Linked DNA regions of Homo sapiens: region 2 is linked to region 1. Evidence: promoter capture Hi-C in 16 types of primary human blood cells and fetal thymus (Javierre and others, 2016). All regions are on one chromosome and are shown on one strand. Each heading gives the region's core, a stretch centred on a gene start or on the middle of the fragment in contact. The rest is flanking DNA. Distances are from core to core; before and after follow the strand shown.

Region 1 (4,058 bases), core at 741-3,240:
TCCCCCTCTAAGTTAAAAAAAAAAAAAAAAATTAAATGTCACATCAAAAAGTTGATTCATCCTTTGATCCTAGGCTTGCGCGAGTTCCACGCAGACTGCCTGAAAGCCCCGTGCAGAGTTCCGGAGCTCACAGGACATCTGTGAACGCCAAGTCCCAGGCCAGGAGCTGGGGCTGGACTCACTCATTCCCATCACACTTAGTGCTCCTCCAGGAACTCCAGCCTCAGAGACACACGGGGTGAAGGCTCAGGGCTCTGCCCAGGCTACAGTGGAATGAGGCCCTCTATCTCATATGCCAAGTAAGGGGTCTTCCAGGTCTCAGTCCCCCTAGATCTGCTACCCAGAGGGCCGCCTGCTCTACTGGGGTTCCTGTACAGGTGGTACTGATGAATGCCACAGACAATCAGAACATATTCAGATCCTGGGGCCAGCACAGCTCTGCCTTCCACCCAGACACCCCTAATACCCCCTTCTCTCTAGCCCCTACTCCACCTCCACCTTTGAATGCTGGTGGCAGAAACAAGGTAGAAGTCAGAGCAGGCCCCCAAATCCCGCCGGTACAGACACGATTCCCCATCAACTGGACCTTCACCACCTCCCCACCTAGGACCTTTCCCCCAGGCAGCCCTCTGCCTCCAGCTGGGCACTTCGAGGTTCTCCAAGGCATGCGGGCAGAGGGTCGCGTTGGTGGGGCAGGGGGCAGCTGAGAAGAGATTTTCAGACCCAGAAGCTGTGCAGGAAAGTGCTCAAAGTTGGGGTGCATGGGTTTGGGGACCCATCTCTGAGGCTGAAAGGAGGCCAGGAGGTGGGGCAGGGGTGGGGAATCATACCCGGGTGCTTCGGCCTATGGTGCCCGCCAACCGCAGCTGTCGGGGTCCCGAGACACCGCCCGGGCAGCGCTGTCTCCCGATCCACTCCTCGATGCCCTTCCGAGCCCAGGCAGCGCTCACGGCGAAGCTGTCACCTGGGACGGGGACGACATGAAGCCCCTGAGTCTGGCTCCAGGTGCCAAAAGTTACCCCCGCGGAGGGAAGAAGGAGGCGCGGTGGGAGGCGAAGGACCACGGCACGGGGGCCAGGAGGGGGTTCGCGGGCTGGGGCAGGAGCCAAGAGAGGGACGCGGGTAAGTAAAGGGGGGTTCAGCGAAGCCCTAGGAGCGAGGAGCCAGAAGGGGGCAAGAGGGGTGAGCAGTACCCCAGGAGGACGGGTTTAGGATCAGACCAGGGAGCACTGGCAGCCAGGACTGCGGAGGAGAGGGCTGGGGGTCAGGAGAGGGGCCGCAGTAGGTGCAGGAGCCAGGATATCGGAAGAAGGGCCGGGGGGCAGGAAGAGGGGGCAGGGTCTTGCGGGGAGGCGCTTGGGGGTCTGAAGAGAGGGTGCCGTGAGAGCCGAGGGCAGGGACGCGGGAGGGGGAGGGGTTGAGGGTCAGCGGTGGGAGCGCAGGACCGCGGGGAGCGGGTAGGAGGGACAGAGGAGGGGGCGCGAAGGCTGCTCAGGGAGCGGGCTTGGGGGGCCGGTGGCCGGAACTGGGGCTTCGGGGTGGCCCTGGTCATAAGACCTGGCGGGCTGGGCCGTTCTGCCGCGGCCGCGGTGTCCCCCGCGTCCATCCCCGAGGTCTGCGCCCCGCGCGCCCCTACCTTCCGGGCTCTCCCTGCGCTTGCACACGGCGGCTGCAGGCACATCGCGAGGCGGCGGCGGCGGCGGCAGCCGCGGCGGCGGGAGAAGGAAAGAAAGGAAGGGAGAGAGTTAGCGACCGCGGCGGCGACGGCGGCGGGGCCCGGGGCGAGCGCGCGGGCGGGGGCACTGACCCGGCTTGGAGTGAAGTTTCCCCATGCTGGGGCTGCGGCGGCCGGGAGCGTCCCTAAGCCATGCGCCCGGCCCGCGGGCCTGGCGCCTCCCTTGGCTCTCCTCCTCCCGAAGCAGCCCCCGAGCCGAGCGGAGCCCGAGGCGGCGCCGGGACGCGCTCCTGCCGCCGTCGCCGCGGCCCGACTGACGCCCGGGAGCGCCGAGCCCCCAGCCCGCCGCCGCGGCCCGCGCCTCCCCGCGCGCCCATTGGCCGGTGCGGCGCATCAAAGGCAAGGCTGGTTGCGGCGGGGGCGGGGCCGGAGGCGGGGCAGGGCGGGGACGAGGGCGGGGCGCTGACGGGAGGGGCGGGACACAGTCCGCGCTCCCTGCCGCGGTCTGGGGCCGGGGGCCGAGCTCCAGGGCTGGCGACCCGGCGGGGCGGCTTGTCCAGGAGGCGTATTGGGACAGAACAGCCCGGCCATCGCTAACTGTACTGTCACTTCCCTCCGCTCCACGTTCTCTCTAAACGGGCAGGGCGGGACTCGGCGGCTCCAATTTACAGGTGGGGAAACTGAGGTCGGGAGCGGAGACCTTAGCTGCTCAGGTGCAAGCTTCGGCAGCGCTGCCTTTTCCCAGTCTTCCCACGACCTACCTTCTGCAGAAAGTGTTCATTACCCGCCCCGTGACCCGCCCCCCACCACCGCACTCCTCTAGTTTCTTATTTGGGGAGTCCAGGAGGAGCCCCCAGCGCACCCCGGGCCAGTGTGAGCCCAGCCCTCTCCAGGCAGCGACAAATGTCCAAAGCGCCCCGTTATCAGCCAGTCTCTGGGATCTCCTCGTCCGGGGGCCCGTGGGTGCCCGCCCGGGTCGGGGCGCGCTGCCAAACTGCGCGGCCCGGAAGGGGGTAACCGCTGAGTCTTTGATCTTCCTTGGTTTCCGCTCCCCGCTGCAGTTCGCCAGACCCAAGGGTTTGTTTGTTTTGTCTGGGGAGGTCTCTGCGGGGAGGTCGCGCGGGGGGAGGGGGATGGTGGCGGTCGACATCAAGGGATTCCACCCCACCTTTGTGGCTCTCAGAACGCCTGCCCCCTTCTGGGGACACTGTGGGTCCGTGTTACGCTCGTCCTGGCACCAGGCAGCTCTGGCGTGGGAAAAGAAAACCCGCAGCTCAGAGTGAGACCAGCCCCGACCTTTGGAGTGAATTACCTGTGCTCAGTTTTGTGATCTGTATAATGGAGGCTCCATTCTGCCCTTTTTGCCGACTCTCTAGAGCAGCACTGCCCAATAGAAATATAATGTGGGCCACATTTGTAATTTTAAATTTTCTTGTCGCCACATCTTTTAGAAGTAAAAAGAAATAGATGAAATATTAATAATATATTTCGCTTAACTCAATACAGTCAGCCCTCCTTATTCACAGGTTCCACATCTGTGGCATCAACCATCTGTGGACTGAAAATATGCAAAAAGAATAATACAGCAAAAATAAAGAATAAAAAACTTTTTAATATAGTATAACAACTATTTACATAACATTTACATTGTATTAGGAATTACAAGGAATCTAGAGATGATTTAAAGTATTCAGAAGGATGTGTGTAGGTTATATGCAAATACTACAGGACATTTTATATAGCGGACTTGACATCTGGGGATTTGGGTATCCTCTAGGATCCTGGAACCAGTCCCCAAAGACACCAAGGGAACACCATATATCCAAAATAGTATAATTTCAAGATATAATGAGATATTTTACATTCTTTGTATTGCGCTAAGTCTTTAAAATTCAGTGTGTATTTTACACTTAAAACACATCTCAAAGACTAGCCATATTGCAAGTGACCATTTGCACTTGGCTAGTGGCTACTGCATTGGGCAGCATCGCTCTGGAAGATCTACATGTCTCAAAAGGACATTAGGAATTCACAGCCCCCCAGAGTCATAAATCTCTTCATCCAAGTGTCTTACTTTCATGTTCCAAGCTTCCTTTTTTAACACCCTTTTTGGTGGAAACGAAGGCTAATGTTATAAGCAGGTACACTAAAATCCTGTTGGCCAGGTGGTTTCATTTGAAGAGTGCTGAAACCACAAAAATATATTACTGTTGTCATTTTTATGTTACAATTCTTCATTCAGTACTTCTGATGTGCCAGTCCTCATCCTCCATCATGTGTAGCCCTCGCAACCACTCTCTGATGCAGACTCATACTTGTTCTAGAAAGGAGGGAACCTATTCAACTCAGAGAGGTGAACTCACTTGCCCAAGGTCACAAAGTT
Region 2 (4,058 bases), core at 732-3,231, 550 kb after region 1:
ATTACAGGTGTGAGCCACCATGCCTGGCCAAATGCCTCTACTTCTAAGAGACCTTTTTTGAACATCGTATTCAATATTGTCCAATCCTGCCCTTTCATAGCCAGAAGGAACACCCTGTTCTCTCCCTTCCAACTGTTAATCACTTTTGGCAGTTTATGATTCACTGGTGTGTGTTTGTTTAATGTCTGGCTTCCTGAACAGCCTGAAAGCTCCCTGAGGGGATCTTGGCTGTTTGGTTCACCAAGGCACCTGGAACATTGTTTAGCACATAATATATGCTCAATAAATGCTTGTTAAAGGAAGGGTGGAAAAGAGGGAGGGAGGGAAGGTGGGAGGGATGTAGGGATTTCCATCCTATCCTATAGTGAGGAAAGAATAAACAAAGCCAAATAAGGGACTTTAGGAGCAAAAATGAGTGAATTTAACATGGGCTTTGATATAGTTTGGATGTTTTTCCCCTCCAAATCTCATGTTGAAGTGTGACCTCCACTGTTGGAGATTAGGCCTGGTGGCAGGTGTTTGGGTCGTTGGGGTGGGTCCCCCATAAATGGCTGAGTGCCATCCTCACAATAATCAGTTCATCCTGGCTCTGTTAGAAGAACCAGTTCAGAAGAGAGCTGGTTGTTTAAGGAGCCTGGTGCCTCCCCTCTCTCTCTTGCTCCCTCTCTTGCCATGTGACATGCCTGCTTTTATTTTACCTTCTGTTATGAGTGAAAGCTCCCTGAGGCTTCACCAGGAGCTGAGCAGATGTCAGCACTATGCTTCCTGTACAGCCTGCAGAACTGCAAGCCAAATTAGCCTCTTTTCTTTATAAATTACCCAGCCTCAGGTATTTTTTTTTAATTGCAATGCAAGAATGGATATATATATATATATATGGATATGGATATATATATTTTATATATATATGGATATGGATGTATATATTTTATATATATATGGATATGGATATATATATTATATATATATATGGATATGGATATATATATTATATATATATATCCTCTTGGTTTTGTCTCCCTGGAGAATCCTAATACTCATATGTATAAAAATCTATGTGTGTGTGTGTGTGTGTGTATGTGTGTGTGTGTGTGTGTGTGTTGAGAGACAGACACACACAGAGAGATTTATTTTAAGTAAATGGTGCACATGATTATTGAGGCTGGCAAGTCCAAAATCTACAGGGTAGTTGTCAGGCTAGAAACCCAGGGAAGAGCCGATGGATGTTGCAGTTCAAGTCCAAAGGCCTTCTGCGGGAAAATCCCCTCTAGCTGGGGGGAGGTCAGTCTTTCATTGGATTCAAGCCTTCAACTGATTGGATGAAGTCCACCCACATGGTGGAGGGCAGTCTGCTTTACTCAGAGTCCCCTGATTTAAATGCCAATCTCATTTCAAATCACCTTCACAGAAACGTGCAGAATGATGTTTTTCCAAATAGCTGGATAACTTGGCCCAGTTAAGTTGACACGAAAGTAACCATTACATTCATGAACACATATCTTTGTGCAAATGTATAAACTTTTATATGAACTAGATTTCTAGCAATGCAATTGTTGTTTCAAGGGATACGAACAATTGCCAAATTTGTGGAAAGATATTGCTATGCTATGCTCCTAAGGGGCTACAGACTAAGAGGTGCAAACTCCCTCCAACAGTATATGAGCATGAGTTTGGGCATGTGTGAACCTGGCCACTTTGAATACATGTTTCTCTAAATCTCTGCTTTGTTTCTGCATCAAGGCCTTTATACAAACTTCTTCGCAGCCTAGAATTCCTTTCTTCCCCACAACATCCTTTGCTTAGTTACTCTCCTACACAAATTTATCTACCTACACCCTCACCTAAATTAGGTCAAACTCTCCTGTTTATTTTTTATTTTTTGAGAGGATCAAGCATAATTTTATTTACTGAAAAAAATTGTTCCAGCTTTGCTGAGGTATAATTGACAAATAAGATTTGTAAGGGCTGGGCGAGGTGGCTCACGCCTATAATCCTGGCCCTTTGGAAGGCCTAGGTGGGAGGATCACTTGAGGCCAGGAACTCAAGGCCAGCCTGGGCAACATAGCGAGACCCTGTTCTACGAAAAAAATGTAAAAATTAGCCGGATGTAGTGGTATGAACATGTAGTCCTGGCTATTTGGGAGGCTGAGGAAGGAGGATTGTTTGAGGTCAGAAATTCAGGGTTACAGTGAGCTATGATTATACCTCTGCACTCCAGCCTGGGCAACAGAGTGAGACCCTGTCTCTTAAAAAAAAAAAGGCATACATTTCAGGTGTAGGACATGATGTTTTGATACACACACACACATTGTGAAATAATTACAACAATCAGGCTAATTAACATACCTATCATCACATAGTGACTTTTTTTTTTTTCTGGTAAGAATACTTCAGATTTACTTTCAGCAAATTTATTTATTTATTTATTTATTTTTGAAATGGAGTCTCGCTCTGTTGACCAGGCTGGAGTGCAGTGGTGCGATCTCGGCTCGCTGTAACCTCTGCCTCCCAGGCTCAAGTGATTCTCCTGCCTCAGCCTCCTGAGTAGCTGGGATTACAGGCATGAGCCACCACACCTGACTAATACATACATATTTTTTTTTTGTATTTTTAGTAGAGATGGGGTTTCATCATGTTGACAAGGCTGATCTCAAACTCCTGACCTCAGGCAATCTGCCTGTCTCTGCCTCCCAAAGTGCTGGGATTATAGGTGTGAACCACCATGCCTGGCCACTTTCAGGAAATTTCAAGTATATAATACAGTATTTTCAGCTACAGTCATCTTGCTGTACGTTAGATCCCCAGAACTGATTCATCATGCGTAACTGAAAGTTTGTGCTCCATGGCTGACACCTCCCGCTCCCCCACCCGATGCTCCTGCCTCATGCTCTTCGATACCGTCCCACCCTTCACAGCCAGGGTCACCTCCATCTGCAACTGCATGTTCACCTCTGTTCTGCAGGCTCACTGGCCTTCTGTCAGCTCTCACATGTATCAATCCTCTCCTGCCCGAGTCTCTGCATTTGCTGTTCTCTCTGCCTGGATCTCTTCCCCCAGTTCTTCATGAGACTGGCAACTTCTCATCCAAAACCTAGCTTCAAGGTCACCTCCTCAGAATGGCTTTCCTGACTTGCCCATCTATCTCTGAACCCATTCCCCAGGGCCACCACAACAAATTACCATGAACTTAACGGGCTTAAAACAGCAATTTATTCACTCACAGTTCTGGAGGCCAGAAGTCCCAAACCAAGGTCTTGACAGAGTTGTTTCCTTCTGGAAGCCCTGAGGGAGAATGTGTTCCATGCCTCTCTTTTACTTTTTGGTGGCTACCAGCAATCCTTGGCATTCGCTGGCTTGTAGATGTATCACTCCAACAACCTTCGCCTTCATCTTCGCATCACCCACATCACCTCATTCCCTGAGTCTTCTCCCATTCTCTTATCTTTTTTTTTTTTTTTTTGAGAAAAGGTCTCACTTTGTTGCCTAGGCTACAGTGCAGTGGCATGATCATAGCTCGCAACAGCCTTGAACCCCTGGGCTTAAGCAATGCTCCTGCCTCAGCCTCTGGAATAGTAGAGACTATGGACACACGTCATCACGCTGGGCTAATTTTTAAATTTTTTGTGGGGAGAGGGTCTTTCTGTTGCCCATGCTAGTGTCAAACTCCTGGGCTCAAGTGATCCTTCTGGCTTGGACTCCCAAAGTGCTGGAATTATAGGCATGAGCCACCACGCCCAGCTCCTTTCTATTCTCTTCTAAGGATACTTACCATTAGATTGACGTCCCACCCATGGAATCTAAGATGATCTTACCTTGAGATCTTTAACTTAATCACACCTGCAAAGCCCCTTTTCCAAATAAGGTCACATTTGCACGTTCTGGGTGGACATATACTGCGGGGGCCCACCATTAACCTCCTCTACACTATCACATTATCTTCTTTCATTTTTTGATGTTCAGAGTAATTATACATTTGAAATGATCTAGTTCAGTGATGTTTTCTAGTTGCTGGTTATCACTCATTACTGGGTTTTGAAATCCAGTGGGCCCGGACAAGT

What was found. The method cuts DNA at HindIII sites, captures the fragments that hold promoters and counts their contacts. A CHiCAGO score of 5 or more calls a contact.
Region 2: a fragment that was not itself captured here is called in contact with the fragment with the promoter of NKD1 in region 1 in 1 of 17 cell types (neutrophils); the score reaches 5.0 in neutrophils.

The regions. Positions count from the first base shown.
Region 1 is chr16:50,546,328-50,550,385 of GRCh38, reverse strand. It overlaps NKD1 (NKD inhibitor of Wnt signaling pathway 1), which reads right to left and starts at 1,990. Exons shown (of 10, transcript NM_033119.5): 1 at 1,808-1,990; 2 at 1,637-1,669; 3 at 831-964. The coding sequence starts at 1,832. RefSeq lists silencers at 1,668-1,857, 1,898-2,347. The HindIII fragment of the contact is 5,196 bases long and covers 1-2,397 here.
Region 2 is chr16:49,998,505-50,002,562 of GRCh38, reverse strand. No RefSeq gene overlaps it. Among named protein-coding and RNA genes, the nearest start is that of CNEP1R1, 25 kb to the left of the region's middle. The HindIII fragment of the contact is 6,384 bases long and covers 1-4,058 here.